2 separate regions of the Homo sapiens genome follow, and region 2 is linked to region 1. Evidence: promoter capture Hi-C in human tissues and cell types (Jung and others, 2019). All regions are on one chromosome and are shown on one strand. Each heading gives the region's core, a stretch centred on a gene start or on the middle of the fragment in contact. The rest is flanking DNA. Distances are from core to core; before and after follow the strand shown. Region 1 holds the start of FBXO27 (F-box protein 27). Region 2 holds the start of ZNF780B (zinc finger protein 780B).

The links. The method cuts DNA at HindIII sites, captures the fragments that hold promoters and counts their contacts. A contact is called where the count stands out against the background at its distance.
Region 2: the fragment with the promoter of ZNF780B here is called in contact with the fragment with the promoter of FBXO27 in region 1 in 1 of the 25 tissues and cell types used here (stomach).

What each region holds. Positions count from the first base shown.
Region 1 is chr19:39,029,364-39,036,451 of GRCh38, reverse strand. FBXO27 (F-box protein 27) reads left to right here and starts at 3,903. Exons shown (of 6, transcript NM_178820.5): 1 at 3,903-3,949; 2 at 4,199-4,588; 3 at 5,132-5,243; 4 at 5,328-5,423. The coding sequence starts at 4,225. RefSeq lists silencers at 4,125-4,194, 4,255-4,404, 4,605-4,684, 4,835-5,074, 4,924-5,106 and enhancers at 4,016-4,808, 5,215-5,324. The HindIII fragment of the contact is 13,585 bases long and covers 1-5,387 here.
Region 2 is chr19:40,051,811-40,058,898 of GRCh38, reverse strand. It overlaps ZNF780B (zinc finger protein 780B), which reads left to right and starts at 2,668. Exons shown (of 5, transcript NM_001005851.3): 1 at 2,668-2,710. RefSeq lists an enhancer at 2,679-2,808. The HindIII fragment of the contact is 5,330 bases long and covers 1-3,445 here.

The DNA.
Region 1 (7,088 bases), core at 2,654-5,153:
CACCCAGCTAATTTTTTTATTTTAAGTAGAGATGGGGTTTCACCACGTTGGCCAGGCTGGTCTCGAACTCCTGACCTCAAGTGATCTGCCTGCCTCGGCCTCCAAAAGTGCTGGGATTACAGGCATCAGCCACAGTCCCTGGCCAACCTACTCAAACTTTTTAAACCTTTTAACTGTTAAAAAAAAAATCAGGCCAGGTGCAGTGGTTCATGCCTGTAATCCCAGCACTTTGGGAGGCCAAGGCGGGAGGATCACCTGAGGTCAGGAGTTTGAGATCAAGCCATTGCATTCCAGCCTGGATGACAAAGTGAAAAAAGTTTTTAAAAAAGTCAAATACTTGAGTCATCATATCTCATTATCAACAAGATTCCCACTGCTTATATATTACATTAAAACTAATATATTAGTTTTAGTGGGCACAGTTGCTCATGCCTATAATCCCAGCACTTGGGGAGGTGGAGGCGAGAGGACCACTTGAGCTCAGGAGTTTGAGACCACCCTGGGCAACAGCAAGACCTTGTCTCTCCTTTAGTCCCAGCTACCCCAGAGGCTAAGGCAGGAGGATGGCTTGACTCCAGGAGTTTGAGGCTAAAGTGAGCTACGACAGAGTGAGACCTGGTCTCAAATATATATATATAAACAGTTTTTTTTAGACAAATTTTCACTCTTGTCGCCCAGGCTGGAGTGCAATGGTGGGATCTCAGCTCACTGCAACCTGTGCCTCCTGGGTTCAAGTGATTCTTCTGCCTTAGCCTCCTGAGTAGCTGGGACTACAAGTGCGCACCACCATGCCCACCTAATTTTTTTTTTTTTTTTTTTTGGTATTTTTAGTAGAGTTGGGGTTTCACCATATTGGCCAGGCTGGTCTCGAACTCCTGGCCTCGTGATCTGCCACCTCGGCCTCCCACAGTGCTGGGATTACAGGCATAAGCCACTGCACCTAGGTTTTTGTATTTTTAGTAGGGACGGAGTTTTACCATGTTGGTGAAGCTGGTCTCAAACACTTGACCTCAGGTGATCCACCTGCCTCGGCCTCCCAAAGTGTTGGGATACAGGTGTGAGCCACCGTGTCCAGTTGAAACAAAATTTTAAAAATGAAAATATACATATTGAGAAGAAATTAGACCAGCATAATAGTTCATCCATCTCTCCTAATTCAGGGTCTCCCTCTCCTATCCACCCAACCCAGCCTCGTTATGCCCCATTTCCCTTCTCTGCTCTAATTTTTCACAGCACTAATCACTTTTTAACACACACACACTTATTATGTTTACTGTTCATCATGACAGAAGCACATTACAGGCTAGTTTGAAGTGTATACACTAATACAACCGTTTCATTCTTTTTTTTACTTGTTTTCTTTTTCTTTTTCTTTTTTTTTTTTTTTTTTTTTTGAGACAGGGTCTCGATGTGTAGCCCAGGCTGAAGTGCAGTGGCATGATCACAGCTCACTGCAGCCTCAACCTCCCAGGCTCAAGCCATCCTCCCACCTCAGCCTCCCAAGTAGCTGAGACTACAGGTGCACACCACTATTTGCAGCTACTTTTTAAATTTTTTGTAGAGACGGGGTTTCACTGTGTTGCCAGCGCTGGTCTCAAACTCCTGGGCTCAAGAGATCCTCCTGCCTCGGCCTCCCAAAGTGCTGGGATTACAGGTGTGAGCCCCCATGCCAGGACCCATTTAATTCTTTTCTGCATTTGTGGAGAGGATTCTAAGAGGGTCAAAAGGAGGTTTTATTTATTTTATTTATTTAAGACAGCTTCTCACTCTGTCGCCTAGGCTGGAGTGCAGTGGTGAGGTCTCAGCTCACTGCAACCTCTGCCTCCCTTGTTGAAGTGATTCTCATGCCTCAGCTTCCCGAGTAGCTGGGATCACAGGCATGCGCCACCATGCCCGGCTAATTTTTGTATTTTCAGTAGAGACGGAGTTTCGCCATTTTGGCCAGGCTGGTCTCACACTCCTGACCTCAAGTGATCCGCCTGCCTCAGCCTCCCAAAGTTCTGGGATTACAGGCGTGAGCCATCATGCCCGGCCTGGAGGTTTTATATTTAATTATTTCCCTGATACTACGTAATTTGCTCATTATGCCAACTGTTTATCATGTCTCTCCCTCTAGAAGGTAAGTTCTTTGTGGGGAAGAATCCATGTCTGGTTTTGTTTGTTGATGTCTTAAACTATGTATACAGCTCACGTTATGTCGAAGCCAAATAAAATATAGAGATATAGAGACAAATCTCTCGATTTAAAATGTTTTGTTGCGGTGGCTCATGCCTGCGATCCCAGCACTTTGGGAGGCTGAGGCGGGCAGATCACCTGAGGTCGGGAGTTTGAGACCATCCTGGCCAACATGGTGAAACCCCGTCTCTACTAAAAATACAAAAATTAGCTGGGCATGGTGGCATGCGCCTGTAATCCCAGCTACTCGGGAGGCTGAGGCAGGAGAATCGCTTGAACCCATGAGGCGGAGGTTGCAGTGAGACGAGATTGCATCACTGCCCTCCAGCCTGGGCGACAGAGCGAGACTCTGTCTCAAAAAAATAATAAAATGTTTTATTTGGGAAGCAAGAATTGACATTCGAGGCATCCACACAGACCAGGCGGTCTTCAGAACTTTCAAAGAACAAAGAGGTTAGAGGTTTTTATAAGAAACAGAAATGTTAGGTATTGTTTTGCAAGAAAGTTCATTGACACTAGCAACGTTCTGGGGAGCTGGCAAGTTCTGACTGGTAAGTGACAGCAGAGGGAAAAACTAGTCTTAGAGTCACGGCAGGTTTTTTCAGTACCAGTTAGACTGCTTCCAGGTTACAACAGGCAGTTTTAACAGCCAGGCTTGCAGAGAATCACTTTCTTGGAGCAATGGTATCTGCCCTAAGTGTTTTCCCCCCGGCCTCTCAACTTTGTTTTAGTTGGATATGACAAGAAGGATCCAATTCACATGATCAACTTTCACAATTTTTTTTTTCTGTTTGTTTTTTGAGACGGAGTCTCACTCACTCTTTTGCACAGGCTGGAGTGCAGTGGTGCAATCTCTGCTCACTGCAACCTCCCCCTCCCGGATTCAAGCAATTCTCCTGCCTAAGCCTCCAAATTAGCTGGGATTACAGGCGCGTGCTACCACGCCCAGCTAATTTTTGTATTTTTAGTAGAGACGGGGTTTCACCATGTTGGCCAGGCTGGTCTCGAACTTCTGACCTCAAGCGATCCGCCTGCCTTGGCCTCCCAAAGTGCTGGGATTACGGGCATGAGTCACCGCACCCAGCCACAATTGTATTTTTATTGGACAGAGCTGATCTAGAGGTTAAAATGAGGAATTCCGGAGCTAGGCTGGCTGGATTCAAATCCCTACTAGCTGGTGATCATAGACAAGCCACTTGGCCTCTGCTGGTCTCAGTTTTTTCACCTGTGAAGTAAAGGGCATAACAGCACCTACTTCATGGGGTTGCCACCCTGGCTGGCAGTAAAACCGTCCATAAAAGTTGGCTGGTGTTACTATTGGTTGCATTAATTTTTAGCAGCCGGAGCCTGTTTTCTCCTGTGAAATGAAGATAACCACGCCCGACCTTAAAGGTGATGGAAATTTTTTAACACGTTAACGGATACGAGGCCTCCCACTCAGAAGCCTGACCAAAATAACAATGGTTGCTCAGAGCCAGACGTCTCATTGCTACTAACGAATTAGGGACACTTCAAGGGGCCGGCTGGAGGGGACGGCTGTGAGCAGCAGGCCTTGGCTCCTGGCTGCACCTGGCCCCGTCGCGGGAAGCAGGTTGGGTTTGGAGAGCGGGAGGGAGCAGGCGGGAGGGGCTGGCGAGTAAGAAAGAGGATGCAGGGGTGGGTGAAGCTGGCTAGTAAGAGGGGAGGGGCCGGCGAGTAAAAAGGACGCAGAGGGGCGTGGGGAGCTTGCGGCACAGCTAGGGCATCCCGGCGAGGAGCGCCGCCAGGCCCCGGGGTAGGACTTGGGGTGCGGTGTCGGTGCGGCCGCCGAGGGGGGCTGATTGCATGCAATTCGGGGCATACACACAGACCGCGGGGTCTCCGGGATATCGGGGCTATCAAGGACGGGCTGGGGGATGGGGACTTGGGGACGGGGCCCAGGGATGGTGAAGACGGGGGTGCGGCTGGCAGAATCAGGGCAGGCAGAGGCTGCGCGCCGCGGAGGCTGCTGGTCCCTGACGCCTTGACCCTTCCTCTCCCGCAGCCACAGCCGGGCCTGGCGGGGGGACCATGGGCGCCTCGGTCTCCAGGGGCCGGGCCGCCCGGGTCCCCGCGCCGGAGCCGGAACCCGAAGAGGCGCTGGACCTGAGCCAACTACCCCCAGAGCTGCTTCTGGTGGTGCTGAGCCACGTCCCCCCGCGCACGCTGCTCGGGCGCTGCCGCCAAGTGTGCCGGGGCTGGCGAGCCCTGGTGGACGGCCAGGCCCTGTGGCTGCTGATCCTGGCCCGCGACCACGGCGCCACCGGCCGCGCGCTGCTGCACCTCGCCCGCAGCTGCCAGTCTCCCGCCCGTAACGCCAGGCCTTGCCCCCTGGGCCGCTTCTGCGCGCGCAGACCCATCGGACGCAACCTTATTCGCAACCCCTGCGGCCAAGGTGGGATCTCGGAAGAGGAAGTCCAGGATGCTGGGCCACAGTGGGAGCGGTAGCGGGGCCGGAGGGGCGGGGCCGCACTGGGACCGGTACTAGGGGCCGCAGGGGCAGGGCCGCAGTGGGACCGGTGGGAGGAGTCGGAGAGGCGGGGCAGCATTGGGAGCCGGTGTGAGGTGCCGGAGGGGCGGGGCAGCATTGGGAGCCGGTGGGAGGTGTCGGAGGGACGAGGCAGCATTGGCACGCAGGGTGCAGGGCTGACTGGGCAGGGCTTCACCGTTTGCCTGTGGGAGGGGTGGGAGTGGGGCAGTTCTGGGAGCCCGAGAGAGGGGTTGGAGGGGCAGGGCTTTGCTGCAAATCAGTGAGAAGGGCCAGAGGAGCGGGGCTTTGCCCTGAGCTGGTGGGAGGGGAAGGGGGCGGGGCCTCGGTGGGAAGGGTCAGGTGAGTGAGCTGCACTGTGAGCACGTGGGAGGGGCTAGGGGCGGGGTCTCACTAGGAACCAACAGGCGGGCGACTGGAACTTGGGCACAAGCCTTTTTTATTTCACAGAAGGCCTCCGAAAGTGGATGGTGCAACACGGTGGGGACGGCTGGGTGGTGGAGGAAAACAGGACAACCGTGCCTGGGGCCCCTTCTCAGACGTGCTTCGTGACTTCATTCAGGTGAATGCCCCTGCTATCCAAAGGTCCGGCCCCTTGTTGAGAAAGGCCTGCCTGTTCTCATTACCCTGTCTCCTGCATTCCCAGCTGGTGTTGCAAGAAGCAGGTCTTGGACCTAGAGGAGGAGGGTCTGTGGCCAGAACTGCTGGATAGTGGCAGGATTGAGATTTGTGTCTCTGACTGGTGAGTGTGACGATTAAAATAGCCCCTTGCTAAGCACTGACTGCATGTGACATGGCCTTTTTATGGGTGACTTAATTTAGGCCTCCTAACCCCTCCTTACAGATAAAAAATCTGAAGTTCAGGCCAGCCATGGTGGCTCACACCTATAATCCCAGCACTTTGGGGGGTCGAGGCAGGCAGATCACTTGAGGTCAGGAGTTCGAGACCAGCCCAACCAGCATGGCAAAACCTCGTCTCTACTAAAAATACAAAAAAAAAATTAGCCGGGCCTGGTAGTGCACACCTGTAGTCCCACATACTTGGGAGGCTGAGGCAGGAGAATCACTTGAACCCAGGAGGTGGAGGTTGTACCACTACACTCCAGCCTGGACGACAGAGTGAGACTCAGTCCTGGAAAAAAAAAAGAAAGAAAAGAAACTGAAGTTCAGGGAGGTGAAGTGAAAAACACACTCACAGTTCTAGTAATTAGCAGAGTACACACTTTCTGCTCATGCCCAAAAGGATGTGGATTGGAAGACAGAAGATGAGATCCAGTACAGAGACCTTTGGCCCAGCTCAGTCTTGTCTGTGAATGAATGAGATGCTCCTTGCCTTAGGAGGAGAAAACAGCATAGTTAGCCAAGAGCTTAGGTTCTGGAGCCAGACCTCCCAGATTCAAACCCTAGCTCTGTGGCTTTGTAGCCTTGGGCAAGTCACAGCATACCTCTGTTTCCCCTGTTTACAAGATAGGGCTCTTGCAATGACAATTATTATATGGCAAACACATAGCAAGTACTTTATGTGAGCACCTTTTTTTGAACCTTGATCCTGTGGGAAGGTGTATTTCAAGCCCTCAGATCATTCAGAGCTTCTCAGGAAATTGAGAGGTTGGGAAAGGGGAGATGGCAGTCTGGGCACGGTGGCTCATGCCTGTAATCCCAGCACTCTGGGAGGCCGAGGTGGGCAGATCTCTTGAGCTAAGGAGTTCGAGACCAGCCTGGCCAGCATGGCAAAACCCATCTCTACTAAAAATACAAAAAATTAGCTGGGCGTCATGGTAAGTGTCTGTAGTCCCAGCTACTCAGGAGGCTGAGGCAGGAGAATCACTTGAACCCGGGAAGTGGAGGTTGCAGTGAGCTGAGATGGCACCACTGCACTCCAGCCTGGGCAACAGAGCGAGACTCCATCAAAAAAAGAAAGGGGAGATGACTTGCCCTGGTCTGGTCACACAGCCTGGGCTTGGCAGAACCTGGCATAAGGCTCAGAGTCAGATTCTGACTCCAGAGCTTGTCCTCTGTAGTGATGGTCTTGAAACTGGGGTGCATGAAGACTTTCCAGGGGATATATGACCCAGATGGTTTTATGGGAGTCAAATTCCAGGTCCACTACAGCCATGAGCCCCCTATTACACAATTAATCTGCTATAGGTTACATCTGTGTGGGAAGTATCATATGATTCTCGTTCCCCAATCTCTTTCTCAGTGTCCCCCTTCTCTAGTTTTATAGGAAAAAAGCCCCTCACTAAGGTGTGGTCCCCAGATGTAAGGACTACTGGGGAGCCAGGCAAAGTGGCCATTGGAAATTTGGGGCCTTAGCAAATTCACTTTTTTTTTTTTTTTTTTTGAGACAGAGTCTCACTAGGTGGCCCAGGCTAGAGTGCAATGGTGCAATCTCAGATCACTGCAA
Region 2 (7,088 bases), core at 1,419-3,918, 1.0 Mb before region 1:
TAAATTTTTCCCTGAGCAGTAAGCATCTCATGAACTTTAGTAAATTTGTATTTATCTAAAATGTTTTCTAAATTCTCTTTTTATTTGTTCTTTAACCCTTTGGTTGTTTAAGATTCTGTTGATTTGGCACAAAACAGTGATATCATCTATCCTTACTCCTATTCAGTATAGAAATTCAACAGAATTTCAGTTATCAGAACTTGCCAACATGAAGACAATGGGATTTAGTCCTACAAATTAAGGAAGAAACTGAATAAATAAAGTCATGAACTAACGTATTATATACAGGATTTAATTTTGAAATTCTTCAATTTTGCATAGGACTTTCTTCAGCTATGGCAGTAGTCTTTTGATGGTGCTCCCATTTCTAACTGGATACATTTACAATTTGTGTTAGAATGGAATGCAATTGAGAAGGTTTATGTTTCCGTAACACCTAAATTTGGCTTAACATTCAAAGGTATCATAAATTGAGCCAATTTGTTTGGCTTTAGGAATAATTTTTAAATAAATGTACCCTTCCTAGACTAAGTGGCAAAAAAAAAAGTAGAAATGTACTGTGAAGGCAAAATACATCAACTGCTAAAATATTTGCAATCTAATATTCCATATTCACAATACTCATGAGGATATTTTCCATTTCATTGGCTATATTCTAAGACTTCTGATTACCTTAGTATATGCAGAGTATATATCTCAATTTAAAAGGTATGGTGTTCAGAGAAGCGCCATTTGAAGGTAGCTATAATTTCAAGTTTATTAACCATAAAGTCCAGCATTGAGGATTACATACAATTTTATCAAAATTTAAAAATAATAGACTGTGTCAAAAAAAATCCTTAAAAATATGGTGATACTGGCTAAGAAATTGATTAAAGCATTGGAATATATACCAAAAATAATTATTCTGCTCTTTAATGCATAGTCAATATAGATAGCTTAAAATTTTTTCCTTACTACAAAAACATTATTTTGTTTTAATGCAAATATGTTATTGTTTACCCTTTAGGATATAACAGAAAATTATGACTCATAAAGGAAATTTTCAAACATTATATAATTTCAATTATCATAGTATTCATACATTTTCAAATTTTTACTACTTTGGACAATATATAGTGAGCTGTTATTGATTTCTAATTTAATTCCATTTTTGTCAAAAACATTCTTTGTATGACTTGAGTCCATTTACTCATTTATGGAGACTTGCTTTATGGCCCAGAATATGGTATACGCTGGAAAGTGTCTCCTGTCCACCTAAGATGAATTTTACTGTCTTTGAGAAGAGTGTTCCAGAAGTGTAAATGAGATCAAGCAGGTTGATATGTTGTTTAGATAATCTATACCCTGTTGCTTTTCTGCATTAGTTCTATCAATTACCAAGAGAGATATGTTGAAATATCTGATTATAATTGTGGATTTGTCTGTTACTTTATTGATCTAACAGGTTTTTACTCACATACTTAGAAGCTGTATTAAGAGCATAATTTAGGTTTGTTCTTTCCACTGGATGAACTGTATCCTTCATCATTATGATGATGTAACTTTCTTTATCCCTGATATAGTCTTTTTGGTGAAGTCACTTTGTTTTTAATATAGCCACTCCAGCTTTCTTTTGACTAGTGTTAGGATTTTATATATTTTTCCATCCTTTTACTTTTAACCTATTAGTGCTTTTATATTTTAAGTATTACCTGTAGGTAGCACGTATTTGGGTCTGACTTTTAAAAAAAAAATCCAACCTGACAACCTTCTTAAGTTAAGGTGTTAGACCAGTTACACTTAATGTGATCATTGATCCAATTAAGTTTGTTATCTTGCTATCTGTTTTCTGTCACAGTCGGGAATGAAAAGACATTTTGCTCTTCATTATTCCACGTTTCCGCTTTATATAGCATAGGAAACTACAAAAATCATTTTGAAAGTTCAATGTTGCTAGATTACAACAGTGAAATCAAGCTTTTCCTACGAAAAACAAACCCCCTTTGGCATTTATTTAGACTGTTTTAAGAAAATGTGTTAATTATTCATCCTTCAAGATAAGGCAAGTAATTCTCTGTGTACTTTTATCTGTTTCCATGCCGTCCTGAATCACGTTTTTCTCTCCAGATAACAGGAAGATTGTCTTGAAGAATCAAGTATATTTGATTCTGAAATCTCTCATGTAAACCACACTTCCTCTTCTAGTATAAAACCAACGATTCCTTTTCTTTCTTTCTTTCTTTTTTTTTTTTTTTTTGAGACGGAGTCTCTCCAACCATTTCTTTAGTTCAGGCTTTTCAAATTTATCCTAAGTCCCTTCAAATAGCACAAAGGGGAAGCCTATGCTCGGATCTGAGACGAAGAGGTCAAAGCAGCTACATTTTGACGTAATTTTACTTTAAATTCTTCTTTAAAAGTTCTGCTCATTTGCATTCTTTTGCATAGAGAGAAAAGGTAATTTACCCTGACGCACCGAAAACAGCAACGCTCCTCTCAGATGGGGATTCTCGCCCGTGGCCGCAACCTCTGCACCCCACGGTCTGGAACTCCCACAAATCCATTAGGCTCGGGTCCCTTAGGAGCCCCCAATGTATGCTGGGATCAACCTGAACAGACCATAGACCAAGACTTCTGAGGTTCTTTCTGCTCAGGACTGTATTTCCCAGAGGCCACCGCACCGGAATTAGCGGTTCCACTTCCTGTCTCCTGGGGTTGACGACCTAGCTGGGTAAGGTCTTCACGTCCTAGGAAGAAATCGGTGGCTGCGGGAGGTCTTCGTGGACTGGGACTCGAACCTGACCGACCCGGCAGTGCGGGTGGGCGAGAGCGAGGCGCTCAGAGGAGGAACCCGGGGCGCAGACGGAATCTGCCAGATCCTTAGGCGTGCGTGTGCGCGGGCATCAAAGGATGGGGATTGCGCGATCTTGAGTGACGGAGGGGACTGTGTGAGTGTGTGCGTGAGGCCCTGTGCACAGGACCGGGACGGCGTGTGGACGCAGTGCGTTTTGCTGGGGCTGTGTGAGTGTCACTGTGCCGGTGGTACTAGGCTCCTGCTGCTTCCTCCGTCTTTCCCCTTCAAAGCTGCAGAGGCTGCAGCAGAGGAATGAAAATGTCCCCAGTAGGGAGGTTAGATATTGAACCGAGAATGAAGCTTTGCACAAGAAGGCGCAGATCTGGACTCGGGGTGGGAATATGAGAGCTGGAAGTGCCTCTTGAGGGTCCCCCAGGAGGGCAGCTACATGTTGAGAACCCAGCGTCCCTCAGAGATCTGTCCCCAGGAACCAGCTTCGAACTCAGACCGATTCCTCCTCCTTTTATTTCCTTCTCATTTCGTACGAAGTGAGGGAAGTTGTGGCCATGGAGGGTGCTTTCAAACTTAGTCTGCGCTCCAAGAAAAGCCTGGAGTCTCACGCTTGCCGTATCCTTCTCCAGTCGTATTATTATCCAAAAGAAGGACCGAGAGGAGGATGAGAGCGTTATTGTTGCACACTTAAGTCAAGGGTGAGTTTGTGCTTTGTATTTGTTCAAGAAATGCGTTTTTGATTTTAGAATATAGAGGTTCCTGTAAATTTTTAGTGAATTTCAGGAGAATATGCAAATTGATTCTTGCCCCCTCCCATTGTGCCGCCTCCCAGCGAGCCGTTCCCCACCCCGCCCGCTCCCCACCTTGCCATTTAATATTCACAGAGCCATTTGGCAAATCGTTCACACCTTCCTGTACGCTCTCTTCTTCTAAGCTGGTATAAAAATAGTCCTCCAGAGGTTTATATTAAAGCTTTATTTTAGACTCTGCTTTGAAAAGAAGATTAGTTTGTGGAATCACACGCCAGGTTTCTGACTCTTTACAGGCCTCCTTTTCCAAGTAGGGAAGAATGGAGATGGTTGGGTGATTTCCATTCGTCTGTGAGGCTTTCAGGAATCGGAAAGTGATTGCACAGAAATTGGTATCAACCAGAGTCAGGATTTTTCGGGAGAGTCCATGAGATGATAATTGTAATACTTGCCAGATCTCTGTGAGATTCGGCAGTTCCGGTTGCATTTTGGGCTATTTGTGTGAACTGTGAGAGGCAGTACGCTGTTGCGGTTAAGAATAGGGGAGTGGATCCAGAGTATCTGGGTTGGAATGTTTGTTCTGTCCGTTTCTGGTCTTCTCAGGCTTGTAATGAACATTAGAATGAATTAATACTCTAAAACCTCTTAGAGCAGTGCTAGGCATATAATAATAAATGTTTAATGTTTTAGCTTTTGTTTTCGTGTGGTCATTTTAGGTCATTTCCCTTGACTTTCTATAGGACAGGAGCATTGGGAATATGTGATTCATTGTGATTGCTGCTTGCATAGTAAGAAAATGAGTGAGTTGCTCAAATGATCTAGGACAGAAGTTCTTTTTAAATTGACAGATAAAATTGTATGTATTTATCGTGTGCAACATGATGTTTTATAGTATATGTACATTGTGGAATGACTAAATCTAGCTAATTAGCAATGCATTACCTCACATAGTTATCATTTTTGTGGTGAGAACACTTAATATCCACTCTCTTAGCACTACAGAATAGTTATTAATAGTAGTTATTAATAGTAGATACGTTGTTGTGTAATAGATTTCTTGAGCTTATTTCTCTTATCTTCCTGAAATTTTATATCCTTTGACCAACATTTCCCCAGCCAACACCATCTTCCCTCCCTCACCCACATTACCCCCGACCTGTAAACACCATTCTCTTCTCTAATTCTATGATATCAAGTGTTTTCTTTTTTTGAGAGAGAGTGTCTTACTCTGTTGCCCAGGCTGGAGTGCAGTGGCGTGATCTCGGTTCACTGCAACCTCTGCCTCCCGGGTTCAAGTAATTCTCCTGCCCCAGCCTTCCGAGTAGCTGGGACTACAGGTGCATGCCACCACACCCAGCTTATTTTTGTATTTTTAGTAGAGACAGGGTTTTGCCATGTTGGCCAGGGTGGTCTCGAACTCTGGACCTTAGGTGATCCGCCTGCCTCGGCCTTCGCCTCCGCTTTCGAAAGTGCTGGGATTACAAGTGTGAGCCACCGCACCTGGCCTATATGAACATTTTTCAGATTCCACTGATGAGTGAGATCATCTGCCTTTCTGTGCTTGGCTTACTTAATATGAATTTCTCCAGGTTCATCCATGTTGTTGCGAATGACAGCATTTCCCTTTTTTTATGGCTAGTTTTCCATTGTGTATATATACCTGCATATATACCACATTTTCTTTATCCATTCATTGATAGACAGTTAGATTGATTCCATATCTTGGCTATTGTGAATAGTGCTGCAATAAACATGGGTGTGCAGGTGTCTCTTTGGTATACAGATTTCATTTCCTTTGGATAAATATCCAGTAGTAGATTGCTGGATCATATGGTGGTTCTATTTCTAATTTTTTGAGGAACCTCCATGCTGTTTTCCATAATGTCTGTGTCACTTTACATTCTCACCAACAGTGTGCAATGGTTCACATTTCTCTACATTCTCACCAACATTTGTTAACTTATGTCTTTTCAATAGCCACCCCAACACATATGAGGTGATATCTTATTGTAGGTTTAATTTTCATTTCCCTGATGATTAGTAATGTTGAGTATTTTTTCATATACTGTAGCCATTTATATGTCGTCTTTTGAGATGTGTTTATCAGGTCCTTTGCCCATTTTTTAATTGGGTTGTTTTCTTGCTGTTGAGTTCCTCACACGTTTTGGATATTAACCCCTTATTAGATACATGACTGCAAATATTTTCTCTCATTCTGTAGGTAGTCTCTTCACTTTGCTGTGCAGAAGCTTTTTTAGCTTGATGTAATTTCATTTGTCTATGTTTGCTTTTATTGCCTGTGCTTTTGAAGTCATTTCTAGAAAAAAAAATTATTGCCCAGATCAATGTCATGAAGCTTTCCCCGTACGTTTTTTTCTATTTGTTTCATAGTTTGGGATCTTACATTTAAATCTTTAATCCATTTAGAGTTGATTTTTGTATAATGGTTTGAGAAAAGGGTCTAATTTCATTCTTCTGTGTATGACTCCCCAGTTTTCACAACAGTATGTATTGAAGAGACTGTCTTTTCCTTATTGTATGTTCTTGGCACCTGTCTCAAAAATCAGTTGGTTGTAAACATATGGATTTATTCTGGGGCTCTCTATTCTGTTCCGTTTGTCTAGGTGTCTGTTTTTATGTCAGTATCATGCTGTTTTGGTTACTATAGCTTTGTAGTATATATTGAAGTCAGGTAGTTTGATGCCTCCAACTTTGTTCTTTTTGCTCCAGACTGCTTTGGCTATTTGGGTCTTTTGTGGTTCTATGCACATTTTAGGATTTTTTTTTTTCTATTTTTGTCAAGAATGTAGGACTGAAATTCTTAATCTGAGTTCTTGTAACTCCACGTATGGTCTTGGGGACCACAAAGCTCTTGAAATAATGTATTGAAGTACTATGGAAATTTATCAATGTGGGTTTTAGAGGGAGAAATAGTATATCATTTCATAAGACTATCAAAACTGTATGTGACCCATGAGGTTTGGATCCATTGATCTAGATAGAACATTGATTCTCAGCGGGGGTGATGTTTAAAAACTTTTGGTTGTCACACCATGGGGGAGGTGCTACTTAGATCTAGTGGATAGAGGTCAGGGATACTGCTGAACATTGTACCGTGCACAGGATAACCCTCCCTATAGCCCCAACAAAGGATTATACAGCACAATATGTCATTAGTGCCTAGGGTGAAAAACCTTAGTCTAGAATCAAAAGATTGTGATACCTGGAATGACACTGTAAATGATCTTATATAAATCAAGTGTCCTGTAATATGGAAATCACTAAGCAAATTATACTAGACTCAAGTGATAAAGTATTATGCAGCTAATAAAATGATGTCTATAAAGAATTATGAAAAGAAAAATATTTGATATACCATTAAGCAGTATTCATGCTATGAACAATGATACTCAAGAAAATGTTACATGTATATGAATCCCATATACTAAGATAGGGTTTTTGTAAGGCATTCTGTAGGAATTGTATCCAAAATGATATTTTAATGAGTTATTTGGTGAAGAAGGGAACCAAGCATGGTGATGTACATTCCACAG